3 separate regions of the Homo sapiens genome follow, and all the other regions are linked to region 3. The links are contacts of gene promoters, found by promoter capture Hi-C in human tissues and cell types (Jung and others, 2019). All regions are on one chromosome and are shown on one strand. The core of a region is centred on a gene start or on the middle of the fragment in contact, and the rest is flanking DNA. Distances in the headings are between cores, read along the strand shown.

Region 1 (4,145 bases), core at 1,051-3,550, 150 kb after region 3:
TGCCTCAGCCTCTTTAGTAGCTGGGATTATAGGTGCCCGCCACCACACCCGGCTGTTTTTTTTTTTTTTTTGTATTTTTAGTAAAGACGGGGTTTTGCCATATTGGCGAGGCTGGTCTCGAACTCCTGACCTCAGGTGATCCACCTGCCTCGGCCTCCCAAAGTGTTGGGATTACAGGTGTGAGCCACTGCGCCTGGCCCTTGCCTTGCTTTTCATAGCAACCTTGGAGGTAAGTCCTCATTATTATTCTTATTTCTCAGATGAGGAAACTGAAGCTCAGACAGGTTTGTTTGCTCAAGGTCACATAGCTATATGTGACCATATATATGCTATATGCCATATGCTATATGGGCTCTGCTATATGTCAGAGCCCAAATTTGAACTAATCAGTCTGTTTCCGGGGCACATATTATGCTAAACTTCTTTCCCTACATGATGTAAATCCTCACAACACTAAGTTTATTGTTGCCCATTTCATAGATGAGGAAACTAAGGCCGGCAGAGGTTAAGGAACAGCTGGGAGGTGTTGGAGATGAGACTTGTATGGCCTCTGGCTCATCCAGGCGTGTGAACTGACTGCAGCTTTTAGTATGCTCAGGATGGTTTCCTTTCCATGGGATTTTACTCATATGATCTGAAATTAAGGTCCACGAGGCAATGGATTGGTGAAAACACTGGGACCCAGAGATGGGGAGTGACTGGCCAAGGTGATATCAACTAAGACCCAGCTCTGTCGCCTAGGCTGGAATGCAGCGGCACGATCTCGGCTCACTGCAACCTCCTCCTCCCGGGTTCAAGCAATTCTCCTGCCTCAGCCTCCTGAGTAGCTGGGATTACAGGCGCACGCCACCTCGCCCGGCTAATTTTTATATTTTTTGTAGAGACGGGGTTTCACCGTGGGCATTTTTTTTAAAAGAGACAGGGACCTGGCTATGTTGCCTACGCTAGTCTTGAACTCCTGAGCTCAAGTGGTCTTCCCGCCTCGGCACCCCAAAGTGCTGGGACTACAGGCATGAGCCACCATATCTGGCCCAGGCTTTAGTTTTTTTCTTAATTTTTTACAAACTTGCCCCACTCTCTCTTCATTTTAAAGGGAACTTATGCTCCTGTTTGGCTGGGCTGGGCTGCTTTGATTAAATCTCATGCAGGGCTGCTCCCAGAAAGCAGAGATCCTCTCTAACGGGAGCTAAACCTAACTTCACATGGTTTAGTTAAGATGAGAGGAGTCTTAGCCAGGCACAGTGGCTCACACCTGTAATCCCAGCACTTTGGGAGGCTGAGGCAGGAGGATCACTTGAGGTCAGGAGTTCGAGACCAACCTGGCCAACATGACGAAACCCTGTCTCTACTAAAAATACAAAAATTAGCTGAGCGCAGTGGTGGGCCCCTGTAATCCTAGCTACTCAGGAGGCTGAGGCAGGAGAATCACTTGAACCCGGGAGGTGCAGGTTGCAGTGACCCGAGATCGTGCCATTGCACTCCAGCCTGGACGACAGAGCGAGACTGTCTCAAAACCAAACAAACAAACAAACAAAAAGATGAGAGAAGTCTTCCAAGGCCCAGCCCAGTGCTAAATGAACCCTCCTTCTTTTCACTGCTGGTCTGCCCTCAGCAGGATGTAGGCCATAAAGAAAGAACCACTTTTTTAAGCCTAAACATCTTCTTGCTGTGTAACTTCACAACACTTGCTTCCCTCTCTGGGTCTCAGGTTACCTTTTTCTGTAGTGGGAGGGTGGCAGCCAATGACTGCTGAGGTCTTTCTGACTAGGAAATCCTATGGCTGCAGTTGAAGCTTGCCACTAATGATCCTGCAGACACCACCATCCATAGCTGCCACCACAACCCATATGGCTGGCGGGGCTGAAGGCAGGCCAGGAACCAGCTGCAAGATCTGGGGGAGCATGAGTCCTCAGCGAGGACCCCAGAAAACAAAGGGAAGCCAATGTTCTCTTGCCAACACAGGGCTGCCTCCCAAGAGGCCCACTTCCAGGCAGCTGGGCAGCTTCCTGGCCACAGGACTGGCTGCATAATGTGCAGGGCCCTTGTTCAAGAGTTAGGAAGAATTTAGGCTGGGCTCGGTGGCTCATGCCTGTAATCCCAACACTTTGGGAGGCCGAGGCGGGCGGATCACTTGAGGTCAAGAGTTCGAGGCCAGCCTGGCCAACATGGCGAAACCTCATCTCTACTAAAAATACAAAAATTAACTGGGTGTGGTGGCTGGCGCCTATAATCCCAGCTACTCGGGAGGCTGAGGCAGGAGAATCGCTTGAACTCGGGAGGCCAGGGTTGCTATGAGCCAAGATTGGGTCAGTGAACTGTAGCCTGGGCGACAGAGCAAGACTCTGTCTCAAAAAAAAAAAAAAAAAAAAAAAAATTCAAGAGCATTAAACCAAGAGCAGGGACATTCTAAACAGAGGTCCCTGAGTGACTGCGTGGGTCACATACCCATGACATTTACCCTGCCTGGCCACCCCAAGACACAGTACCAAAGGATCACTTTCTTTCACTTTCACAGGTTTTTTGTTTGTTTGTTTTGTGACGGAGTCTCACTCTGTCGCCCAGGCTGGAGTGCAGTGGTGCCATCTCGGCTCACTGCAGGCTCCACCTCCTGGGTTCACGCCATTCTCCCGCGTCAGCCTCCCGAGTAGCTGGGACTACAGGAGTCCGCCACCACGCCCGGCTAATTTTTTGTATTTTTAGTAGAGACGGGGTTTCACCGTGTTAGCCAGGATGGTCTCGATCTCCTGACCTTGTGATTTGCCCGCCTCAGCCTCCCAAAGTGCTGGGATTACAGGCTTGAGCCACTGCGCCCGGCCGATCACTTTCACAGGTTTTTACAGTCCCGAGGGACTCTTCATTAAAGCCTCCGTGCTCTGGCTGAGTGGTGGTCCTGGCTGCAGCTCCACAGAGGAGGGAGAGAATTCTGGCTGGGAAATGGCCCTACTGGGTGAGGCAGGGTCTTCTTCTCAGGGATGAAGGTCATCTGGCCTACTTTTTCCTTCTTACAAGCCACAGCTATGCTGAAGGTCCCAAAGGAGCTCCGATTGACCTAGTGCCAGGCTGTAAAGGCTGCGGGCAAGGCAGACTCAGGACTCCAGAGCCAGAAACTCTGGAGGACGTTAGAAGAGCAAGCAGCTCAGTGTGGCAGAATGAGCCCAGCCCAGCCAAATAGGAGCATAAATTCCCTTTAAAATGAAGAAAGGGTGGGGCAAGATTGTAAACAATTAAGAAAAAAACTAAAACCTGGTCCAGGCATGGTGGCTAATGCCTTGCCTGTAGTCCTGGCAGTTTGGGATACCAAGGTGGGAGGATCACTTGAGCTCAGGAGTTCAAGACCAGCCTGGGCAACATAGCCAGACCCCTGTCTCTTTTATTTTTTTTTTTGAGACGGCGTCTCACTCTGTCGCCCAGGATGGAGTGCAGTGGCACCATCTCGGCTCACTGCAAGCTCCGCCTCCTCTGTTCACACCATTCTCTTGCCTCAGCCTCCTGAGTAGTTGGGACTACAGGCGCCTGCCACCACGCCCGGCTAATTTTTTGTGTATTTAGTAGAGACGGGGTTTCACCATGTTAGCCAGGATGATCTTGATCTTTTGACCTCGTGATCCGCCCGCCTCGGCCTCCCAAAGTGCTGGGATTACAGGCGTGAGCCACCGCACCCAGCCTAGACCCCTGTCTCTTAAAAAAAAAAAAAAAAAAATTGGCCAGACGCGGTGGCTCACACTTGTAATCTCAGCACTTTGGGAGGCTGAGGCAGGCAGATCACGAGGTCAGGAGTTTGAGACCAGCCTGACCAACATGGTGAAACCCCATCTCTACAAAAAATACAAAAATTAGCCAGGCGTGGTGGCCTGCACCTGTAATTCCAGCTACTCAGGAGCTATTCTACTGAGGCAGGAGAATCGCTTGAACCCGGGAGGTGGAGGTTGCAGTGAGCCAAGATCATGCCACTGCACTCCAGCCTAGGCAACAGAGTGAGACTCTGTCTCAAAAAAAAAAAAAGGCCAGGCGGGTGGCTCACGCTTGTAATCCCAGCACTTTGGGAGGCTGAGGCGGGCGGATCACCTGAGGTTATGAGTTCAAGACCAGCCTGACCAACATGGAGAAACCCCATCTCTACTAAAAATACAAAAAAATTAGCCGGG
Region 2 (4,069 bases), core at 1,370-3,869, 130 kb before region 3:
TATAGTTCTTTGAATGCCACATCAAGCTCAGATGGGCATTGGGCACCCTAAGATTTATTCAGATTACATTAGAAAGATCCCCAAGGCAGAAGGGTGGAGGATAGATTCATGGAAATGAGACAGATGGTGAGTTCAATTAAGAGACTCTTTATGGAGATAGCTCAATATTTCAGGTGAAACATAATCAATACTCAGAAAGGAGATTATGGGGTCCCCAGATGTTTAGGAATTAGAAGCAACAAGACATGGTGACTGGTTGGATGTGGAGGACACAGTAGAAAACATCTAAAGAGACTTTTAGGTTTTATTGTGGGTAATAGGGAGATGGCACCATTCATGGACACAAGAATAAAGGAAGGTAATAAATTCACTTCTGGGACTTGGTAGAGTTTACGTGGCCCCAGCCATCCATATAGGGGTATAGGGGTGATTGGAATGTTGGTGTGAATTCAGGAGGCATCAACCTGGGAGTCACCACCACGAAGGTCATATTGGAAGCCATGGCAGCTGATGAGATCATCTAGGGATGTGTGTAGACTTGAAAGAGAAAGGGGAGTAAGTATACTATATCCTCATCAAAAGAGAAGAAAAAATGTGACCAGCAAGAGAGACCAAAAACTAGCAAAAGGTAAGAGAAGTACCAAGGTAGAATGCCATAGTGGAATGCAAGAGGAGAGAAAATATCAGGAAGAATAGAGAGCCAAATAGCATCAAATTCTGCAGAGAAACCAAGTCAGGTAATATCTGAAAAGGGTGTAGGAGGTCGTGGGTAAGTTCAGTGACATGGAGGGAGCAGAAGCCAGAGTACAGGCTCAGGGGATGGAGAAGTGAGGGTGGCGTAAGAGGTGGACACAGCAAGGGCACACTATATGTTTGAGAAATTTAATTCAAGATGAAAAAGGAGAGGAGTTAAGCAATGGTTAAGGCCACACAGCGTCATAGGGATATTTTTGAACTCATACCATAGTTTTATATAGAGATGAAAAAAACCCAGAGCTCAGAGAGTCCTCTTCAGCTTTATAAAATCAAACTTGTCAAGTTAATGGACTTATTTAAGTGAGTCAGACCCCATTAGAGCATATGTCACTTGACTGTTATAGGTACACAGCCATGACTCAGAAATGCTGACACAAAGCCATGTGGTACGATATATTACTAAGCAGTGCTTATGCATTGTCACACAGTGATTAGAAAGATTGCATTGTGGTATATGGCTGGCAGAACAGCTCAGAACTATATAAGTGACGTTTCTCTTTGTGGAAATTTTGGGAACTTGTATTTGATTACAAAATGCCTTGAGATTATAAATCCAATCGGCAGATATAGAAAACTTACAGCATAGCTTTCTTCATATCACAGCCTCTGTAAGAAAAATGTATTAATTTAATTTCATATAACTTTTTTTATTGGTTCAAGTGATTAATTCTTCTAAGCAGATGCTAGTGTGATGTAGTGATTAAGAGCACAAGCAATGAACTTCAATAGACTTGTGTTTTGAATACAAGGTCAACCACTTATGAGCTATGAGATCTTGGGTAATGTCTTAGTCTATTTCGTGCTGCTGTAACAGAGTAACCACAGACTGGGTAATTTATAAAGAACATAAATTTATTTTCTCACTGTTCTGGAAACTGGGAAGTCCAAGATCAAGGTGCTGGTATCCAGTGAGGGCCTTCTTGCTGTATCATCCCATGGCAGAAGGTGGAAAGGCAAAAGAGAACCCAGGCACACAGGAAGAGGGCTGAACTTGCTTTTATAACAAACCCACTCTTCTGGGTTAATCTATAGATAAGGGCAGAGTCTTCATGACCTAATCTCTTCTTAAAGTTTCTACCTCTTAACACTGTTGCATTGGGGATTAAGCTTCCAAGACATGAACTTTGTAGGACACTTTCAAAGCATAGCAGGTAAATTCCTAATTTGTAAAATGAGGAAAATAATAGTTCCCACCACAGAGAGTTGTTATGCAGGTGAAAGTGAGGTCATGCATATGCAGTGCTTGGCACAGTATATGACACCTAGTAGAGGCTCAGTGAGCATGAGATGAATTTCAATTCACTGGGGCCAACAGGGAGACCCTGCTAGGAAGGGAACCTCAGGCACAAAGGGCTAAAGGCAATAATAACTGTGGCTGAGCTTGGAGAGGAGAGGATGTGGGTGAAAACTGACAGAAAATGAGATAGGCAGAGCAGTAACAAGGTATATGGATCTTCTGTTGGGGAAAAAAAATCCTATAGCAAAGCTTCAAATAGTATTGTTATTTTATATATGCATATATATATATATATTCTATATCTACACATACGTATACACTACGTGTTACCACCAGAGTCTTTTCTGTGCTTTGCTAAACCTATTATTACAGGGATATTTCCTGAGCCACTGTATCTTTTTTTTTTTTTTTTTTTTTTTTTTTTTGGAGATGGGGTCTCACCCTGTCACCCAGGCTGGAGTGCAGTCCTGCAATCTCAGCTCACTGCAACCTCCTCCTCCTGGGCTCAAGTGATTCTCCTGCCTCAGCCTCCTAAGTAGCTGGATTACAGGCACCCACCACCACGCCTGGCTCATTTTTGTATTTTTAGTAGAGACAGGGTTTCGCCATGTTGGCCGGGCTGGTCTAAAACTCCTGACCTCAGATGATCTGTCCCCCTCGGCCTCCCAAAGTGCTGGGATTACAGGTGTGAGCCACCACACTAACCTGTTTCTGTTTCTCCACTCCAGTGTCCATCTCAGCTGCAACTGTACTTTGTGTCAACCAGTATTCAAGGGAGGACTCTGATTGGTTCAGTTAATCCTTTCAAGCCAAGCCCATGAGTTGTGCTCTGCTTGGAACAGGGGTTTGCCCATCCAATCAGCTGTATCCAGGGCTAGAGGGAAAGTGGAATCCCATGCTTCAGAACCTGCCCTTTCGTATAACAGGAGCTGAGACCATAAAATCTGCCATGGATGAGACCACACTGAGTAAGCAGCATCCTGAGTTATATCTATCTGTTGGAGGGATGGAGGAGAAAAGGCAGGCAGGTGTAAGACATGAGTGGCCAACTGTCCCAGTTTGCCTGGGACTAGGTTTAAATTTTTAATAGTAGTGAAACGTATATGTCATAACATTTATCATTCTAATGGCTTTCAAGCATGCTGGTCTGTGGTGTCATTGTGCAAACATCACCACCATCAATCTCTAGAACTTTTCATCTTTCCAAACTAAAACTTCACACATTATACACTAATTCCCCATTTCCCCTCTCCCCAGCCCCTGGCAACCATCTCCTCTCTGCCTCTATAAATCTGACTACTCTAAGTACCTCCTATAGGTGGAATCATATAGCATTTGTCCTTTTGTGACTGGCTTATTTCATGTAGCATAATGTCCTCGGGGTTCCTCTATGTTGTAGCATGTGTCAGAATTTCTTTCCTTTTGCAAGCTGAACAATATTCCACATTTTGTTTGCTCATTTATTCATCAATGGACCCTTGAGTTAGTTCTGCCTTTTAGGCTGTTGTGGGTGGGACCGGCTCAATTTTAACACTAAAAGTCTTGTGTCCCAAGAAACTTCTCAGTCCTGGGCAAACTGGGACAGTTGGTCATCCCAGACATAGACCCAGCTAGCATCCCCAAAACCAGGACACCAGCACAAGCAGCCAAGGGCATCATCACCAGGGAAACTCCACCTGCACAGGGCATGATTTTGGTGTCCCAGGAAAGGTGACTCTTCCCACACAGCCTCTGAGAACTAAGCAGGCTAAAGAGAGGCAGTTATCAGAGATCCTTAATGGAGCAGCCAATTCTCAGTGACAGAATTCATTATCCAAATGGGACACTGAACATAATACCCTCTCACACACACACATCCTCACAGTCCACGGGATTTGGTTTTGCCTAAGCCTGGCCTTATTCTTAAATACCAAAGTGCATCAATGATCTAACTCCTACAAAGCTGGGAGGGTTTTCCATTCACAATAGACCTTATAAAAATCATGCATTTTTCAGTAAATCAGAGATCTGCTTCTTCTCTCCTGTTTTTTTGTTTTTTTTTGAGACAAGGTCTCACTCTATTGCCCAGGCTGGAGT
Region 3 (4,270 bases), core at 741-3,240:
AGGATTGGGTGGGGCCTTGGGGGACATGGGAGGGCATTGTGGGCAGAGGGCAGGGCTGTGCCTCAGTTTTCCAAGCCTCTTCCTGTGCCACAGTGCCTGCAGGAATGGGGAGCATGGCCAGGAGGTGACGGGCCAGGGGGACTCCCCATTCTACTTCCTGCTGCCCTGGGGAGCACAGGGCCTGTCAGTCTTCCCTAGGCCTCCAGAGTAAGAGGTGAGAGATGGAATAGGTGCCCCCAGGCAGAGGACATGACCAGCAATAGTGTACATAGCAGGTGTCGACCAGGTCAGCAGGTACCCAGAGATGAAGAGATGACCACTTTCTCCAAGGGCAGCCAGTCAGCATGCAGGGCCATCAGCATGGGCTGGGGTGAGTGGCGTGTTCCTTCTTCAGCAAGACAGGGAGAGGAAGCCGGATAGGAGGCAGCTACTGACGTTGACATGCCCACCTCCTGTAGACCCACCCGGCCCTTGTTCCTGGAGGCAACCAGTTTGGGGCTTGGCTCTCGGGTATCTGGGGAGCAGGACACTAGGGCTATCTCAGGCTCTGTGCCCTGACCCCACCCTTGCCCAGGCCCTGGCAGGAGAGAAATGGGGCAGTCTGTGTGCCTCTCCAAACTGTTGGCCCCTTTTCTGGCAGTTGTGCAGTTATCGTGGCCAGACAAGGCAGGGTCAGGTCTTGCCAGCCAAACCCTGATCCCACTCATAGGTCTGCCACTTCTTTGCTGTGTGACCTTGGGCAAGTCAGTCAACCTCTCTGAGCCTCCATATATAAATGGGAGAAACAGCAGTGCCTACTGCACAGGCAGTTGCAACGATAATACATATAATCTTCATGGATTTGGGAGCATAGGCACGCAGCAGCCCCCTTCTCTCTGTGGCTCCTGCTCTCCCAGCCTTGGGCCCCCTCCTCTGCTTCCCTCTCTGGCCTATTTCCTCTCCTCCTGTGCACTTCTTGGCCTTTCTTCTCCTCTGCTCACTCCACCTGCAGGCCTCGGGCGAGCTCGCCACCCAGATCCTTGCTGCCCAGGAGAACAGGGCACGGAGCCTGAGATAGACCTAGTGTTCTGCTCCCCAGAGACCCGAGAGCCAAGCCCCAAACTGGTTGCCTCTGGGAACGAGGGCCGGGTGGGTCTACAGGAGGTGGGCATGTCAATGTCAGCAAGCTGCCTCCTAGCCCCGCTTCCTCTCCCTGGTGGTCTGGAGCCCCTGGCAGCAGGGTGAGGGTGGGGAGGGCAGAGCTGGTGTGTGCCTGACCATACCCCTGGCCCTGCTATCTGCCCAGGGCCCCTGGCCCCCGGCCCCCAAACTCCATTTTCAGCATGTGGGGAAACCCCCTGTATCTGCGTGGGCAAGGTGGGATTTTCATCCCTGGTGGGTGGAGAAGGAGCAGCCCCTTGAAGCAGGGTGATAACCCAAGTTGCCCCAGAAAGCAGCAGCTCCCCAGGCCTCCACAAGGTTAAGCGATGGAACCTTCCTAATGGGAAGGCTGGGCGTGGGGGTCTGGTCCCCAAGATGTTGGGCTTGGGGCCCTCTCGGGCCCTCCATACTCCCCAAGGTGTGGGTCAAGGGCTCTAGCTGTCTGGGCAGTGCCCATGCACCCTGCCCTGCCCCGCATTGGTAAGCTGTGCATGTCTGTGACGACCCTGTGTGTACCTGACATGGGTGAGTCTGTACGTGTGGTCTCGGCTTTTGTATTCGGAGGATCCCGTGTGAGCTGCAGCTGTTGGCGTGTGCCTATGTGCTGGGGGCGGATGCAGGGGCTGGGGACCATCAAGGATGATGTGTGGCTGGGGTGGGAGGAGCAGTGACAGGGCTGGGGCAAGGAGGACTTCAGAAGCCAATTGGAGCCAGGCTTGTCTCCCAGCAGCCAATATGGGAGCTGGGGCTCCTGGTAAGCGAGTGGCTGCTCAGAAACCCTGCGGGGAGGAGGGGCTAGCTAGGCTGGGCCAGGATCCCTGTATAAATGGCCCAGGAGCTGTGCCCCATCACAGAGCCGACCATCTCCCACTCGAGCTGCCCCCGCCCTCTGGACCCGAGTGACTCAGGCCTTTGTTTGTCCTTCCTGGTAGAGGCGGGTTCCCTCCCTCGGCAAGATGCCGGAGTGCTGGGATGGGGTGAGTGAGGGCGCTGCGGGCATCAAGGTGGGCCGGGAGGATGGTGCATCCTTATGACCCACCGCAGGGAGGAAGTGCCCCCCTCAACCCACATCTGGTGGCAGCCCGGCCTTCAAATAGCCTCACCCTGGGGTCACTGAGACACGGCCAGAGTGCTCCAGGTTCCCTGGTGATCCTGTTTGCAGGAGTGGCTGGGGGCAGCTGCTAGTCAGAGCCCATAGCAGGGGCTGGGGGGAGCGTGTGGTTGGGGGGTGGGTGACATATCTGCAGGAAATGGAACGTGGAAGGCACTGTCTGACTTGGCTGCATTGCCCGTGTGGACCCGGGCGCTAGTGCCTGCATGTCCCTCTGACCGTGTGCCCTCTGGTGTGCGCTTGGATGGTGTCTGCCTTGGTGATGCCTGGGGCCATCAGGCCAGGGGGCGGGGGTGTCCTTGGTGAGCCCCCGAGGCTGTGTGCCCAGTGTGCGTGCCGGGTCTGTGCGTGCAGGGGCTGCCGTCCCAGTGGGCGGCCGTCTAGCTTGTTTGGATGGCTGCGCCAGTGTGATGGGAAGGACAGGCGGCCTCTTCCTTAGGAGCCACCTCACAGTTCCCAGGGCTCTGCTGCGCCAGCCGGGCAGAGGCAAGGAGGTCTGGGCCACACAGGAATGACAGCCTTTCAGGCAGGGGTCCCTGCTGGGGAGGAACGAGGAGGGGTTGCCTGCCTGCCTTATTTTGTAGGTGGGGGAAGGCAACGCTGGAGCCGTGAAGCTGGCAGGGCTAGGGGACCCCAGGTGGAGCCCAGGGCACCTCCTCTCGCCGGGGCATCAGGTACCCCGGCCCCATTCTTCCTCAGGAGGGAGAGGCAGGGGCAGACTCACCCCCACCCCCGGGCCCCACACGCCTGCCCTGCCGGTTCCGCAGACGATAGGTCACCCCGCACGCACGGAGGTGACGACGTCAGCACCTGCCCGCCCATGCAGACCCTGTCCCCTGAATTATTGATGCGGCTGACAGGCCGAACCACAGCACCACCAGCACCAACTCCCACACCGGCGCAAAGCCCGGCTCAAAGCCCCACTCCCCTCCAGTGCTCAAGGTCACAGGCGAGGGGAGACGGACCGACCGAGAGGAGCCGCCACAGCCCCCTCCCCTGCTGCCGCAGTGCTTCCCGCCTGCGCCTACCTGGAGGCGGGGCCGGCTCTGACGTCACCCAGAGCCAATGGGAGTGCTCGGCCCTGAGGGTTGGGGGCCTCAGAGTGCACCGCGCTGTGGCCCTTGTGGGGCTGCCCTTGCGCAGCGCTCCAAGGGACGGGGATGTTTGGCTTCGATCAGGCTGAACTGAGTCCTGAGCTCTCCGCAGAGGGTGAGAGAAGGCGTTAGGGAGGTTCGCAGCAGGGTTCAGCGAAGGTCACTGGACTTCGTAGGACAGGTAGCCCGGTGACGCCCAGGCCCAGCCCCAGCCCTTCCCATCCTGGGAGATGAGCCCTAGTAGAGCCTGATCACGTCACCTCAGGGGGATGGGGACAGGGGCGGCCACACCAGGGCTGGGAGAAGACAGTGGGGCCTCCTCAGCAGCAGAGAGCAGACACCCCTCACACCCCTCAGGCGGACCCGCACGCTGCGGGTCTGGGTTTGGAAGGCACCGCCCTGGGCTCTCGACGTCTGACCCCAGGAGGATAACTGTCCTTTATGCAGCAGGAGGCGCATTGCAGTTCTTTTGCAGCCCCACCCTCCAGAGCTGAGAGAACTCACAGGTGGCTGTGAAAGGGCTGCCTGGTCAGGAGCTCCCTCGGGTGGAACCTGATCTCCTGTGAACATGCAGCCTTCAGTGCACCGCCCTGGCCCCTGAGACTGGCACCTGGCAGGGCCTGCCCTCCCTACTCTGGGATTGACCTTGGGCAAGTCATTTCCCTTTCCTAGCCTCAATTTCCTCCTCTATGGCTTGGGCCTATGTGGGAAGTAAATGAGAAAACTGTGGGTCAGTGGTCAGTGGCGGGGAAGTGTTCCTGGATTTGATGGGCCCCGAGAAAGGATAGGCCTGGGATGGGAGGGGCTGTGTGGTCTGTCCCCTCTCAGCCCTGGTGTGGCCTCCTCATCCCCTGGGTGGTGCAATCAGCCGCATGGCTCACCCTAAGGCTCATTACCTGGGCTCTCCTGGAGGACAACAGGGAAA

Evidence for each region. Contacts are between HindIII fragments. The study calls those that stand out against the background at their distance.
Region 1: a fragment that was not itself captured here is called in contact with the fragment with the promoter of NDRG4 in region 3 in 1 of the 25 tissues and cell types used here (mesendoderm cells).
Region 2: a fragment that was not itself captured here is called in contact with the fragment with the promoter of NDRG4 in region 3 in 2 of the 25 tissues and cell types used here (dorsolateral prefrontal cortex and spleen).

What each region holds. Positions count from the first base shown.
Region 1 is chr16:58,646,810-58,650,954 of GRCh38, forward strand. No RefSeq gene overlaps it. Among named protein-coding and RNA genes, the nearest start is that of CNOT1, 19 kb to the left of the region's middle. The HindIII fragment of the contact is 8,503 bases long and covers 1-4,145 here.
Region 2 is chr16:58,365,323-58,369,391 of GRCh38, forward strand. No RefSeq gene overlaps it. Among named protein-coding and RNA genes, the nearest start is that of GINS3, 25 kb to the right of the region's middle. The HindIII fragment of the contact is 5,593 bases long and covers 1-4,069 here.
Region 3 is chr16:58,498,153-58,502,422 of GRCh38, forward strand. NDRG4 (NDRG family member 4) reads left to right here and starts at 1,991. Exons shown (of 15, transcript NM_001242835.2): 1 at 1,991-2,117. The coding sequence starts at 2,097. RefSeq lists silencers at 1,820-1,899, 1,910-1,969 and enhancers at 1,849-2,665, 2,666-3,483, 3,484-4,270, 3,893-3,942. The HindIII fragment of the contact is 53,618 bases long and covers 1-4,270 here.